Linked DNA regions of Homo sapiens: all the other regions are linked to region 2. Evidence: promoter capture Hi-C in 16 types of primary human blood cells and fetal thymus (Javierre and others, 2016). All regions are on one chromosome and are shown on one strand. The core of a region is centred on a gene start or on the middle of the fragment in contact, and the rest is flanking DNA. Distances in the headings are between cores, read along the strand shown.

Region 1 (3,404 bases), core at 230-2,729, 310 kb before region 2:
TGTGTCTGCTGCCCTTGGAAGCTACTGTTCCCTGTGTGGCCCCACACAGTTTTCTCTGAGCTCCAAGACCTAGGATCTATTTCTTTCCTCCTTCCTCTCACTTCTCTTTCCTCACTGTTGTTGGTTAATAACAATCTGGGCTATCCTTGTAAATGGAATTTCACATCCTCCCATTGGCATAGTCCACCATTACTTGAGACATGCCCCTGTATTTCTCAGAGACTATGGGACTCCCCCAACTCCCCACCCTTTGCTGTGGCCAATTCATTGATGTCCATCTAATTAAGGGAGGATGAGAACTGTTGTTCTGGATTACACTGGAGCCTTAAGGCATTAGAATTTGTTAAATCTTCCTGTGCACAAGATAACTTATTAAGCACTTTATATATATCATCTCACTCAGCCCCCTCAACAATCTTTATTAACCCTATTTGTAGATATCCAAATGGAAGCTCAGAGAAGCTAGGAGAGTTGCCATAGACACACAGCTGGCAACTTGAATGAGATTTACCAGACCCCAGAGCCTGTGTTCTTATCTGCAAGGCCATAAATCAATCTCCACTTCTGTTGACCGATACTCTATAGGCTGTACTCCAAGTCTACTTAATACAAGCAGAAAATCAAAGTATGCCTTTGGGGAAGAGGGAGGTGGATTCTAGGCCTCAGCTATATCTGTGTCCTGGGGCTGCCATCACAAAGTATACAAACTGGGAGACTTAAAGCCACGGAAATTTATTCTCGCACAATCTTGGAACCAGAAGTGCAAATCAAGGTGTTGACAGGGTTGGAAGCAGCCTGACTACTGCAGAAGTGGCTGTTGGGAAGAAGTGGAAGATGAGGCTAGAAGTTCTGAACGGAAGGACAGAGCCCTGTGTCATCAAGATTGCATTGACCACAAATCACAAAACCCCAGTTAACACTGACTGGAGTGATAAGGAAATTTGCCATCTCACAAAACACTGCATCTGTGGATACGGTGGGTCCTGGGGTGGTCGGATCTGCAGCTCTGAGATCTTGTGGACAGGCTGCTTTGCCACTCTGTGGGTTGACTTCCCTCCCCTTGGGGCTATAAGATGACTGCCCAGTTCCAGGGCTCACGTCCACTCATGACAATATAAATCCTACATTTGGAATGAATGGTCAAGTATTTGCAACCCTTTCACTCTCAATACGTTTTGCCAAACTGTCCTCCAGAAATATGTTCTAACATATAATAATAGAATTTATAATTTATAATAATCCCATTAGTCACGTTTAAGAATGTCCACTTCTGACATCCTTATCAACACTGGACAGTGATTTTTTATTAACCTTGGCCGTGTGTCTGGCAAATTTATGATGCTAATACATATGTATTGAATTCATAAATTAATGAATTCTTGCTTTTTTATATTTCTTCACTTGTGAGTTACCTGTTAGTGCCCAGATTTCTGTTGGTATATTAATCTTTTGCTTACTGATTACTAAGAGTTCTTTGTGTATCTTTGTTTTTCAAATATATTACATTTATTTTCTTCTGTTTATTGTTATGCTTGTAGTGTTTTCTGACTGTGTTTTCATGTGGTCAAACATATAACATATTTATCTCTATTTTTCCAGTCTGTGAATGATTTTATTTTCAGCAATTAAATCTTTAATCTTTTTAGAGTTTATTTGAGGGTATAGAAGAAATCTAATTTATTTTTCTTCCATGTTTGGTTGATACTATTACTAACTAAATATCTCTTTTACCTACTGATTTGAAATACTACCTTATTGAACACTAAATTTTAATTTTTCTTAAGTATCTTTCTGGACTCTAATTTAGTCCAATGAGCTATCTTACAGCTCTAGATTGACCTTAGAATGCAATTGTGGTAATAAAATGATTGTCGACATTTCCTTCATATTATTGGGAATGCTTTCAATGCTTTTCATTTAAATATCATGTTTGCTTGCATGACCTCACTTATAAGTGGGAGCTAAACAATGGGTACACATGGACATAAAGATGGAAACACTAGACGCCAAAGACTCCAAATAGGGGAGGGGAGGAGGGGGCAAGGGTTGAAAAATTACCTATTAGGTACAATGGTCACTATTTGGATGATGGGTACATCAGAAGCCCAGACCTCACCATTACACAATATATTCATATAACACAGCTGCACATGTACCTCCTGAATCTAAAATAATCATCTATCAATCAATATCATGTTTGCTGTTGATTTCCTAATAGGGAACAGTTTCGAATATTTAGTTCTCCAAATTTTTATTAGAAATGATAGCTGAATTTTACAAACGCCTTTCAAGTTTTTATCAGGATCATGAGTTTTCTTTCCACTAACTCATATGATACATTATTTTAACTGATTACTAAATGTTGAGCCATCCTCACATTCCTGGAATAAGTTCTATTTGGTCATACTATATTATGGTTTTAATACGCTGATGGAATCAATTTGTTCTTCCTTTATTTTGAACAGAGGATGAAACACAGGTTCCCAGGGTGGCAGCATTAGGTGCTGCTCTTCAGTAGGAATGGCCCTCAAGGTCGTCCAGGCACCATTCTCTTTAGTGCTCCAGGTGATGACTCAGGTGTGGAGAAGCACGACTTCCATTGGGAGGCCCAAGATATGTCCTGGCCTAAGGCTTTGTGCCCCACAGGAGTCAATATCTGGTGAAAGAGATCACAGACAGCTTCCAAGGCCCCTGCACTCAGGAGAGCCCAAGGCTGTGACACTCCACTAAAAATGGATAGTTCATTTATAGTCATCCCAGCCCAGACACTTTGCCACCCAGGCCTACTTGATATTTCATCTTCATCTGGTGTGTAGGGGAACAGAGCTAAATAATGAATGGAAAAGCCAGGTTCTCTTTCAGAAGGGAAGAGGCTGCATTAACAACTTTACTTAGATAGTGTCCATCCCTAAGGGAGTTCATTCTTCATATTCTTTTTATGTGCCTTCTTTTTGGGGCACATAAAAAGTGAGTTAGGAAGAGTTTAAATAGTAAGAGAATTTTCAATATTTCCTCACTCCTCCATAGCAAGGATTTTTCTTCTTTTATTTCCACAAAGCCAGTGACAAGACAGTTCCCAACACATAGTAATTAGAATTTTTTTGTTTGGCAGTGTCTTGCTCTGTCACCTAGGCTGAAGTGCAGTGGCATGATCTTGGCTCACTGCAGCCTTGACTTCCAGGGCTCAGGTGATTCTCCCGCCTCAGCCTCCTGAGTAGCTGGGACCACAGGCACGCACCACCACAACAAGCTAATTTTTTAAAAATTTTGTATAGAGATGGGGTCTCCCTCACATAGCTATTGCTATGTTGCTCAGGTTGGTCTCCAACCTCTGGCCTCAAGTGATCCTACAGCCTCAGCCTCCCAAAGTGCTGGGATTACAGGCATGAGTTACCACACCTGGC
Region 2 (3,730 bases), core at 446-2,945:
CAGCGCCCTCTGGTGGCTGCTCTCCCCACTCACACTTAGCCTCTTCCTTGGTTGGGGGGACACTTTGAGGCCTCATTCCTGCCCCTCCCCTTCCTTTCACATGGAGGAAAGTTCTAGAATGGGGTGGGAGAAAACTTTCCACTTGTTCTGCATTTCCTTTACCTCCTTCCTGACCTTAGGTCTGGGCACAGGAGGAGGGGCTTGGAGGTGGAGGCTGGAGCTTCTGGGGGTCCTGGCTGCATGACTCTAAGGAGGGTGGTGCCTTCGTCCCCACCCAACCCCCACCGCATCGGCCCATTCTCCTCCCGAAGCATCCCTGGGCCACAGGTTCCCAAGGCCACCTCCAGACTGGGCCCGCGAGTGGGGCGGCCCTGGTAGCGTATCCACAGAAGTTATTATGAGGTAATTTTATTTCTTTCCATTTTAGGTAAAAATAGTAAATACAAGATAATCTTAATAAAGGTAAAAATACATCATTTGGATTTTGTTGTTGTTTTCTAAACAGTGCTACCTACAGTACAGTTTTCAATTTAGGATTTTTAAACTTTTTTTTTATATAAACAAATAGAACTATTTTGCTATTAGGCTGTGTTCTCATCTGGCACTTAAGAATAGATCACAGGTCACCTCCTGGTTCTGTTTGGATGTGTTGGGGGTGGCAGGGAGGGAGTGAGAAGGAGTTTGTGGGTTGAGGTGTTTGTCTTCCCAGGACACAGCCAGAGCTGCAGTCCCACCTGCAGTGGGAGGGCACAGGTGTGCACCCAAGATGGCCTTTTCCTGCTCTGGCCACAGGGATGGGTTTCACTGTGGCTGGACCAAAGGTCTCACACTCGTCAGGGGGCTGTTCCTCCCCTCCTCCCATGGTAGCTTTTCTTACCCAACCACCTAGATTCACAGCAGTTCTGGGTCTAGGCAGGCCAGCGGGCTGGAGATGTCAGTCATGCTGCAAGAGACTGAGCCAGGAGATCCCCTTCGTGTCCTAGAGGAGTGGGCTGGGGACCCCTCCCCACCAAGGATGGGGGCGAGGGCATCCAACCTGGCCTTGGAATGCTGGTAGAAGTCACAGACGCCGATGTGGGCTGCTAAATGTCTTTGCCCTTGTTCACCCTCAGGTGGTCTTTGTTTAAGTTCTTTCCAAACTTCTCGCTGAGTTGTTGAATCAGGTCTGCCAGCTCACCAGTAGCTTGAGATTTTTCCTCAAGAAGCTCATAGCGCAGGCTGGAGATATCTTGCTTGATTTCCTTCAGCTCGCCTGCAAGGACAGAGGAGATTTTGCTGAGTCTGAGTAGGTGGAAGCTCGGGGCTTGTCCCATGCACATGTGGGCATGTGCATCCTTCCAGTGGAATGTCGGGTCCTGGGCCAGCCCACCAGGGTTGAAGGTGAGGCAAGGGGGGCTCTATTTGAACCCAGAACCACCCAGCTCCCCCACCACTGAAGGACACATCGATCCATAGAAAGCCCTTCTCCTCCCATTCCAGGAAAACCTTTCCCTTAGGGGTTTGAAGGAGGAGTCAAGATCAGGGCTGTGAATTGTGTCTAGCACTTGTTTCATAAAATACTTGTTAGAAAGTTTGTTTCAGAGTCACTAAAGGCAGATTTCAAGACTCTGGAAAACAACCCCATTAACCAGAGCATTGCTTTTGATGATGCTATGTTTTGTTCTGTCATTGTTATTTGTAGGGAGGAGAAACTCCCAGGAGCCTGGAGAGAATGGCTCGGCACAGCAGATGCAGCCGTGGTGGCCATGGAGCTGACCAGCCTCTTGGGAGTGAGCTGGCCACCTGAGCACGGTCCACTCAGCCCACACAAGCAGCAGCACCACCTCGCTGACAGGAGCTTCGTCAATGCCTGCCGCCTCCTCCTTCCATAACGAGGGACCACCTAGCAGGGACTTTCACTTTTATTTCCACAGAGAACCTTGTGGTTAGAAGTCCAATGGGTCTAGGCTGTGGGAATCTTCTTATTAACCACAAACAGATGTCAAAAGGATCTTTCCTAATACTGTAGATACTGCACTTGGCTCGTGTGGGAGTCCACTGTCTGTGGAAACATTACTCGTCTATTTTTCAGGTATGGTCTATACACATAAAAGGCAGAGATCTTAAAGGTACAGTTTGATCCATTTTGACAAATGGATACACCCCCTGTTTTTATCAGATGCTTCACTGAGCCCCCGTTTCATGGTGTAATTTAAGTGCCATGACACCTGGATACCCCCACCTTCTATGATCAGTGATATTCACATGAATCAGTTACATACTGCTTGAGGCTGGCTGGCCTGACACTTGGCCATTGTTTGAGACCTACAAGTAGGTAGGTGGGCTGTTGTCTGCCCCTAAACCATGTCAGCTCAGGGGCAGTTCAGTTATGGCTGAGCTTCGAGCTGCATGCTGGGTGCCCCAGGATGAAGCAGAGGGTCACCCAATGACCAGGCTCTTTCTGTAGTTCCCTGTGGCCCAAGCTAGGAGAACAGAAACTTCAATCATGGATGAGGCTGTTTCTAGGTGGCAAATATTTGTCATAAGTATCTCATTAATTACCTGGCATAAAGTAATTTGCTTTTCATCTAAGAGTAACTGCTTAAAATAGACTGGAAAACAACCCAAACAGTGAAAATAATATAGTTGGTAAACTTCAGTGTATATCAGAGACCCTTGGTGCAGTTTTCCAAAAGCAGATCCCCAGACCCCACTCCAGAGATGCTGATTCATTAGGTCTGGGTGGGGTCTGGGATCTGTAGTTTTAACAGCTAGTTCTGAGGTGGGGAACACTTTGAGAAACACGGCTGTCAGTTAGATGCTGAGAACCTCCCACTGAGACTGGACAGGGCCAGTTAGAAGCAAGCGGCGGCAGACCCTAAACGCAGTGTGCATCTGCTCAGTGGATGTGCACCATGGAATGAAGTACAGCATTGGAATTCTGAACCATCCTGCACTCAAGAGGCATGAGGTTGGCTCAAGGCTGCCATTGCTGTGGGAGGCAGAGGAATGTCCCCTACTCCCAAGATGTCCCCGTCCTGATCCCTGATGTTCTGCCTGTGGGAAACATGACTGTTTCTCCTCAAAGGGGAACTGAGGTGGCAAATAGAATTCAGGTTGCTGATCAGCTGCCCTTAACAGAAGGAGATTATTCTGGATTGTCCTGGTGGAACCAATTCAATCACATGAGTCCTTAAAAGTGGAGGAGGGGCCGGGCGCAGTGGCTCATGCCTGTAATCCCAACACTTTGGGAGGCTGAGATGGGCGGATCACAAGGTCAGGAGTTCGAGACCAGCCTGACCAACATGGTAAAACCCCATCTCTACTAAAAAAATACAAAAATTAGCTGGGCGTGGTGGCACACACCTGTGATCCCAGCTACTCAGGAGGCTGAGGCAGGAGAATCACTTGAACCCAGGAGGCAGAGGTTGCAGTGGGCCGAGATTGTGCCGTTGCACTCCAGCCTGGGCAACAGAGTGAGACTCCATCTCAAAAAAAAAAAAAAAAATGGTGGAGGAGGAAGGCAGAAGAGTGGGGTCAGAGATGGGACAATGGAAGATGAGGCAGGGCAAATGGAGTGTGAGGGTGCCTGATGCCTGCTGCCAGCTCTGAGGTGGTGGGGCTGTATGCACAGACCAAGTGCTGGAGCTCAGGGCAGCCCAGCTGTGGCCAGCAAGGCAACAGGGACAGGCCTGCAGCCCCGTGGAAATGCACTCTGCCGACAACTGAATGAGCAAGGAGACTGAGCCTC
Region 3 (3,451 bases), core at 140-2,639, 290 kb before region 2:
AAAATGACGGATCACCAGGACATCTATAAAACATGACGTACTAACCTACTTTTATTAGGTGATTTTGAAGGACTAACCCTGTTTCTCTTGATCCCAGACTTATGCTGACAATCAAAGTAATAATACAGAGTTTTGTCTTTCATAAATAAAATGACTACAGAAAATTATCTCGAGATTAACAAAGTATTCCTATGAAATTTTCAGTTAAACATGGCAATAAAATCACTTGCTTCTTTTTAAACAAAATATATTTGTAGAATTATTTTCCTTGAATTTCAGCTTTTGAAACCAAGTAATCTGCAACGTTGGAAAACATGATTCAGTGTTACATTTTATTTTAAATATGTTGCAATGTGAAAGCTTTACTAGAAGAGCAATAGTAAAAAGCAATAGGTTAAAAATTATTTTTATTCCTTATTTTAAAAAGTGATAACTTCAGATCCATGAAGCTGTGCAAAAAAAGTCCACCATAAACCAGAAGAACATGTTGTTAATGAAATCTTGAGCTCCATACAATGCCCTTGACTTTATTCACTTTTCAACACAGAGTAATGGCTTTGAATCAATGTTGTCAGTGATGACTAAGCCTGACCCATTTAGAAATGCTTATTTCATAATTCCCCATTTACGAGGGCTTCATACTGTGGATAGAATGCAAAGAACAGCAAGCTCTTCTACATTTAGAGACACACTAGCTGGGACTTGTGATTTTAAAATGAATAGCCTTAATCTTGAAGTAAAGTTAAATAGCTCCTTTACTAATTTCCTTTAGGGAAAACTTAATCTAAAGAAATATGAAGTAAAAACTGTATCTCAAAAATGTTGAGAGATTTTTGCACAGGCAAGAAATCTTGACTGATGTAGATAATAGGCTATTTATATTTTAAATAGTAAAAAACAAATTCTTAAAGGAAAAATATGATCAATCTTCAGGACATAATTAATCCATTGCAGGTTTAAATGAAATGAATTAGAACAGAGGGAAATCTTACAGTGTCTTTTTATGCTGGCAAGGTGTTTTGCAGTGTCCAAGGGAAAACATGTGCAAAATGTACCTGAACTTTTCTCTCGGAAGTGGGCAGTTTACATATTAAGCCACATACAGACATGATTCAGAGATATTGTGGGTTCAGTTCCAGACCACTGCAATAAAGCAAATACCTCATTGAAGCAATTTGTATGAATTTTTGGTTTCTCAGTGCATATACAAGTTATATTTACACTATACTGTAGTCTAGGTGTGCAGGAGCATTATGTTTAAAATCTTTACGTACCTTAATTTAAAAATGCTTGACTGAAAAAAAAATGCTAACCATCATCTGAACCTTCAGTGAGTCATCATCTTCTTGCTGGTGGAGGATCTCGTCTTGATGTTGACGGCCGCTGACTGATCAGGGTAGTAGTTGTTGAAGATTGGGGTGTCTGTGGTAATTTCTTAAAATAAGACAACAGTGAAGTTTGCACACGGATTGACTCTTCCTTTCACAAGAGATTTCTCTGTAGCATTTAATGTTGTTTGGTAGCATTTTACCCACATTAGAACTTCTTTCAAAATTGGAATAAATACTCTCAAACCCTGCTGCTGCTTTATCAACTAAGTTTATGGAATATGCTAAATCCTTTGTTGTCATTTCAACAATGTTCACAGCATCTTCACCACAAATAGACTCCATCTCAAGAAACCACTTTCTTTGCCCACCCATGACAGGCAACTCCTCATCTGTTCAATTCTTGTGAGACTGCAACAATTCAGTCACATCTTCAGGCTCCACTTCTTACTCTAGTTCCCTTGCAGTTTCCACCTCACCTGCACTTCCTTCCTCCATGATGTCTTAAACCCCTCAAAGTCATCCATTTAGGCTGGAATCAACTTATTCCAAACTCCTGTTAATATTGATACTTTGGCCTCCTCCCATGAAGCCCAAATGTTCCTAATAGCATCTAGAATGGTGAATCCTTTCCAGTAGGTTTTCAATTTGCTTTGCCCAGATATATCAGAGGAATAACTATCTATGGCAGCAATAGCCTTACAAAATATATTTCTTAAATAGTAGGACTTGGAAATCAATCCTTGATGCATGGGCTGCAGAATGGATATTGTGTTAGCCGGCCTGAAAACACTAATTTCCTTGTACATCTCTATCAGAGCTCTTGGGTGAGCACTGTCCATGAACAGTAATATTTTGAAAGGAATCTCTTTTTCTGAGAAGTAGATCTCAATAGTGGGCTTAAAATAGTAAAATATGCTGTAAACAGATGGCTTTGTCATATTTCTAGAACAGAGAAGGAGCAGATTAAGCATAATTCTTAATGGAATTAGGATTTCTAGAATAGTAAATGAACATTAAAGTAAAGCCAATGCTTTAATTTAAAGTCACCACCCACATTATTCCTAACAAAAGAGGCCAGCTGTTCTTTGAAGCTTTGGTACAAGGCATTGATTTCTCCTCTTTAGTTATGAAAGTCCTAGATGGCATCTCCTTCCAATAGAAGACTGTTTAATCTACATTGAAAATCTGTTTTGAATGTAGCTGCCTTTATCAATGATCTTGGCTAGATCTTCTGGATAACTTGCTGCAGCTTCTCCATCAGCACCTGCTGCTTCACCTTGCACTTTTATGTTATGGAGATGGCTTCTTTCCCTAAATCTGATGAACCAAACTCTGCTAATCTCAAACTTTTCTTCTGCAGCTTCCTCACCTCTCTCAACCTTCATAGAATTAAAGAGGTTAGGGCCTTGCTCTGGATTAAGCTTTGGCTTAAGGGCAGGTTATAGCTGATTTCATTTTCTATCCAGACCATGAAAACTTTCCCCATACCAGCAATAAGGCTGTTTCACTTTCTTGTCATTTGCGTGTTGACTGGAGTAGCACTTTTTAATCTCCTTCAAGGACTTTTCCTTTGCATTCAAAACTTGGCTAATTGTTTAACACAAGAAGCCTAACTTTCAGCGTATGTCCGATTTTGACATGCCTTCATCACCAAGCTTAATCATTTTTAGATTTGAATTTAAAGTGAGAGACAAGGAACTTATCCTTTCACTTGAACACTTAGAGGCCATTCTAGGGTTATTAATTGGCTTAATTTCGATACTGTTGTGTCTCAGGGAATAGAGATGCCCAAGGAGGGGGAGAGAGATGAGGAAACAGCCAGTGATTGGAACTCAGAACACACACATTTATCAAGTTTGCCTTCTAATATGGGTGCAGTTTGTGTCATCCCAAACCAATTACAATGGACACACCAAAGATCCCAAATCACAGATCACCATAACAGATATAATAATAATAAAGTTCAAAATATTGCAAGAATTACCAAAATGTGACACAGAAACACAAAGTGAGTACGTGCTGTTGGGAAAATGGTGCCGATAGACTTGCTTGATCCTGGGTTACCATAAAACTTCAACTTGTAAAAAACACAACATCTGAGAAGTGCAATAAAGTGAAAT
Region 4 (3,299 bases), core at 686-3,185, 370 kb before region 2:
CTGCACTCTGCCCTGAAGCTCTGGAGGGAAGCCCTCCTGAAACATGACATCCAGTCTTTGTTCAGCCTGAGTGCCCCTGTTGCACTCCAGCACACCTTCTTTCCTTCCTTCTGGCTGATGTTTTCTCAACAGACCCTGTCCACCAAGAAAGGGCCAGGCAAGTCTGAATAACTGGAAATCCAGTCCTGGCCTTATCACCTACTCTCCAGTGACCTGGGCACAGCACTTAACCTTCCTGAGCCTTGAATTCCTTGTCTGTAAAGTGGGCAAGTAGCACCTCCCTGGTGGGGCTGTCATGAAGCTTGTTCATGGAGGTACTGAGGATACAGCAATGAGCGAGATGATGCTACTATCAAGAATAGACAGGCTGGAGTGCAGGGAGGCAGACAGTCACTTGTCTAGGGTCCGGGGACTCACCTGTGGAAGAACCCGGCTACAAGGGCCTGTGCTGCTGACCCAGGTGAAAGGCTTATTCCTGTGCCCTTGGCTGCGTGGTCTTAGGTTGAGGAGGCCTGGCTGGTGCCTATGTCTGATGCAGCGTGGCTAGGTTTTCTAGTCAGGGCTTGGCTGCCTCTAGACCAGGGGTCCCCAACTCCTATACCGTACCAGTACCAGCCTGTGGCCTGTTAGGAACGGGGCTGCACAGCAGGAGGTGAGCAGTGGGTAAGTGAGCATTACTGCCTGAGCTCTGCTTCCTCTCAGATCAGTGGCAGCATTAGATTCTCGTAAGAGCACAAACCCTATTATGAACTGCGCATGCGAGGGATCTAGGTTGCCCGCTCTTTATGAGAATCTGATGCCTGATTATCTGATGGTTTCACCTCAAAACCATCACCCCACCCTGGTCTTTGGAAAAATTGTCTTCCACAAAACTGGTTCCTGGCGCCAAAAATGTTGGGGATCACTCTTGTAGACCACTGGGACTGGACTGCAATGGACAGGCTTTGGGAGGGGGTGTCTGCCTCCTTCTCATGAACATCCCAGTGGGGGTTCTTGTTTTGCTTCAACATGCTCCCCACAATTCTAGGCTGCCCCCTCACTACCCAGTCCAATCTGGGGCATGCATCTTGGCCCAGGACAGCCAGGGCATGGCTTGCTCTGCCAGGTCAGGGGCAGGCCAGGCAGTGGCTCAGCTCTGAGCTCTGAGGCTTCAGCCACCTCACCTCTGACACTGAGCACTCATCCTCTTCTCCTTGGGTTTTCAGCTCTGGGATGCTGAGAGGTTCCAATGGGAGAGAAACCATGAACTGGAGTAGCATGAGATTCACAGCACCCCTGACATGAAGCTCATAGTTTTGGGCTAAATATTGCATGAAGGGCCATGATCTTCAAGATGTATCCACTGCATTCACACAATCCAGGGCTCCCATTCTCTATAAGGACCAAAGAAAGTGTCAGAGACCTGAGAAAATAGTATAGTATATAAGAAGAAAAGTACAGAATCAAAATTAATGCTGCACTAAATATTTACAAAATATAACCTCATGTTAAATAGTCAAATGCAACTCAGCTTTCATGGAGGTCTATGTGGATGATATTAATATGGGATGTACATTAAATATATACAATTATGCTTAATTTTATCTTACTTGATACAATATGAGCAGGTTTGCAAAAGCGAAAGAGTCCAAAATCTAAGCAAGTCTTAAAATGGCCTTGATTCTACATAACCAGGAGAGACGAGAAAGATAATGGCAAGACCATCAATTCTGTAGGCCCAAAATGAGTGCTCTGGACACCTCAGATTTGGAGATATTTTCCATAATAACTAAAAGCACTGAAGCTGGGCTAGGGAACCAAGCTCTCTTCTCTCTTGCCTTTCATAGGTGTTCACTGAGTATCTATTATATACCTAACACTATGTATAGGTCAGAACCCAACACTGAGGGCAGCCACACCTGGTCAAGAGCTTGGACTAGACTTGTTTTGGTCTCAGTAGGCTAGAGATTGGTGGGAGTAGCAGCCTCTGGGGTCCTGTGGAGTGAAAGGCCTTGGGGATGAACAAAACGAGGGGGCCAGGTTCCTGGGGAAACCATGTGAGGCAGTGTGGTTGACTGAATAATGGTCCCCAGATGTGCCTGTGTCCTCATCTGTGGAACCTGTGAATGTCATCTTATATGGCAAAAGAAAACTTTGCAGGTATGATTATGTTAAGGATCTTGAGATGGGAGGATGATCCTGGATTATCAGGGAGGTTCTTAAATGTAATTACAAGTGTCCTTATAAGAGGGAGGTGGAGAGAGATTTAGATTTCTTCCCACAGAAGAGGAAGAAAACAATGTGACAACAGAAGCAGGGAGAGAAGAGGAGCCATGATGCTGGGGCTCCGGGAAAGAGGGTGAACCCCAAAAGCTGGGGGAGACAAGAAAACACATTCTCCTCAAGAGCCTCCCGAGGGAGTGCTGCCTTGCCAGCATTCTGATCTTACCCCACTGAGACTCATTTCAGATTTCTGGTCTTAGAACTGTGAGATAATGCATTCATGCTGTTTTAAGCCATGAAGTTTGGGGTAATTTGTTACAGCAGCAATAGGAAACTAATATAAGTAGTCAGTTGTGTTCATCTGTAAGATGGGACCAGTATCCGTGCCTTAGAGCATCTGTGGGATTTAGTGAGGTCAATTTTATATGATGGTCAGTATGCAGTTGGTGCATAATAAATGCCTTCTCCTGCTATCACTGGGGGCCCTAGAGACTTGGGCTTTGCTGCTGGCCTCAGTGCCAGCCTACCCGAGTGCTCAGCATGCCTGACAGACCTTTGCTCCATGGCTTTGAAATTATTCTGTGATCCAGGTTTGGCTCTCAGGTTGAGTCACTTCATGTATTATTGGCTTGAGTGACTCAACCACTCAATTTTCTTAGCAGGAATTGATTACTTGTTGCAGGGGGTGGGTGGCAGTCAGCCATTTGTGGATTCACTTTCCAGGGACAGCCCTGGGAGAGTGTTGGACCTCATGACAGCCTTACATGGGGCACAGAGAGAGACCTGCACCCCTCCACCACCTGGCCCAAGTCATTGTCCTGGTTGTGGACATCCCACTCCGAGGTAGGCCTCTGTGGTTCTGCTTAACAAGAAGACCTTGAAGGCCCAGTTCTCATCTTGCTGCATTTTCCAGGGAGTCTCCCCCACTGAATTTAAAATTACCTTTTCCTTCTTATCACCCAGCTCTTCTTATCCTTGGTTTATTTTCCTCTGTAGTACTTGTCTTCATCTAAAATATATATTTACTTGGGAATTATTTTTTATTGACCATCTTTCCTGACTCCACTAGGTTGTAAGTTCCATGAAGGCAGACTCTG

The links. Contacts are between HindIII fragments. The CHiCAGO score rates a contact against its expected background, and 5 or more counts as called.
Region 1: a contact is called between a fragment that was not itself captured here and the fragment with the promoter of TRPC7-AS1 in region 2, in 8 of 17 cell types (monocytes, naive CD8 T cells, fetal thymus and 5 more). The highest score is 9.1, in monocytes.
Region 3: a contact is called between a fragment that was not itself captured here and the fragment with the promoter of TRPC7-AS1 in region 2, in 4 of 17 cell types (endothelial precursors, fetal thymus, M1 macrophages and 1 more). The highest score is 5.9, in endothelial precursors.
Region 4: a contact is called between a fragment that was not itself captured here and the fragment with the promoter of TRPC7-AS1 in region 2, in 2 of 17 cell types (activated CD4 T cells and monocytes). The highest score is 6.7, in activated CD4 T cells.

The regions. Positions count from the first base shown.
Region 1 is chr5:135,901,280-135,904,683 of GRCh38, forward strand. No RefSeq gene overlaps it. Among named protein-coding and RNA genes, the nearest start is that of IL9, 7.1 kb to the left of the region's middle. The HindIII fragment of the contact is 5,582 bases long and covers 1-3,404 here.
Region 2 is chr5:136,212,353-136,216,082 of GRCh38, forward strand. It overlaps TRPC7-AS1 (TRPC7 antisense RNA 1), which reads left to right and starts at 1,696. Exons shown (of 2, transcript NR_046708.1): 1 at 1,696-2,071. TRPC7 (transient receptor potential cation channel subfamily C member 7) reads right to left here. Exons shown (of 12, transcript NM_020389.3): 12 at 393-1,252. The coding sequence ends at 1,083. The HindIII fragment of the contact is 8,916 bases long and covers 1-3,730 here.
Region 3 is chr5:135,921,001-135,924,451 of GRCh38, forward strand. No RefSeq gene overlaps it. Among named protein-coding and RNA genes, the nearest start is that of IL9, 27 kb to the left of the region's middle. The HindIII fragment of the contact is 2,062 bases long and covers 359-2,420 here.
Region 4 is chr5:135,845,383-135,848,681 of GRCh38, forward strand. All of the region lies in intron 2 of SLC25A48 (solute carrier family 25 member 48), which reads left to right. Among named protein-coding and RNA genes, the nearest start is that of SLC25A48, 12 kb to the left of the region's middle. The HindIII fragment of the contact is 3,273 bases long and covers 300-3,299 here.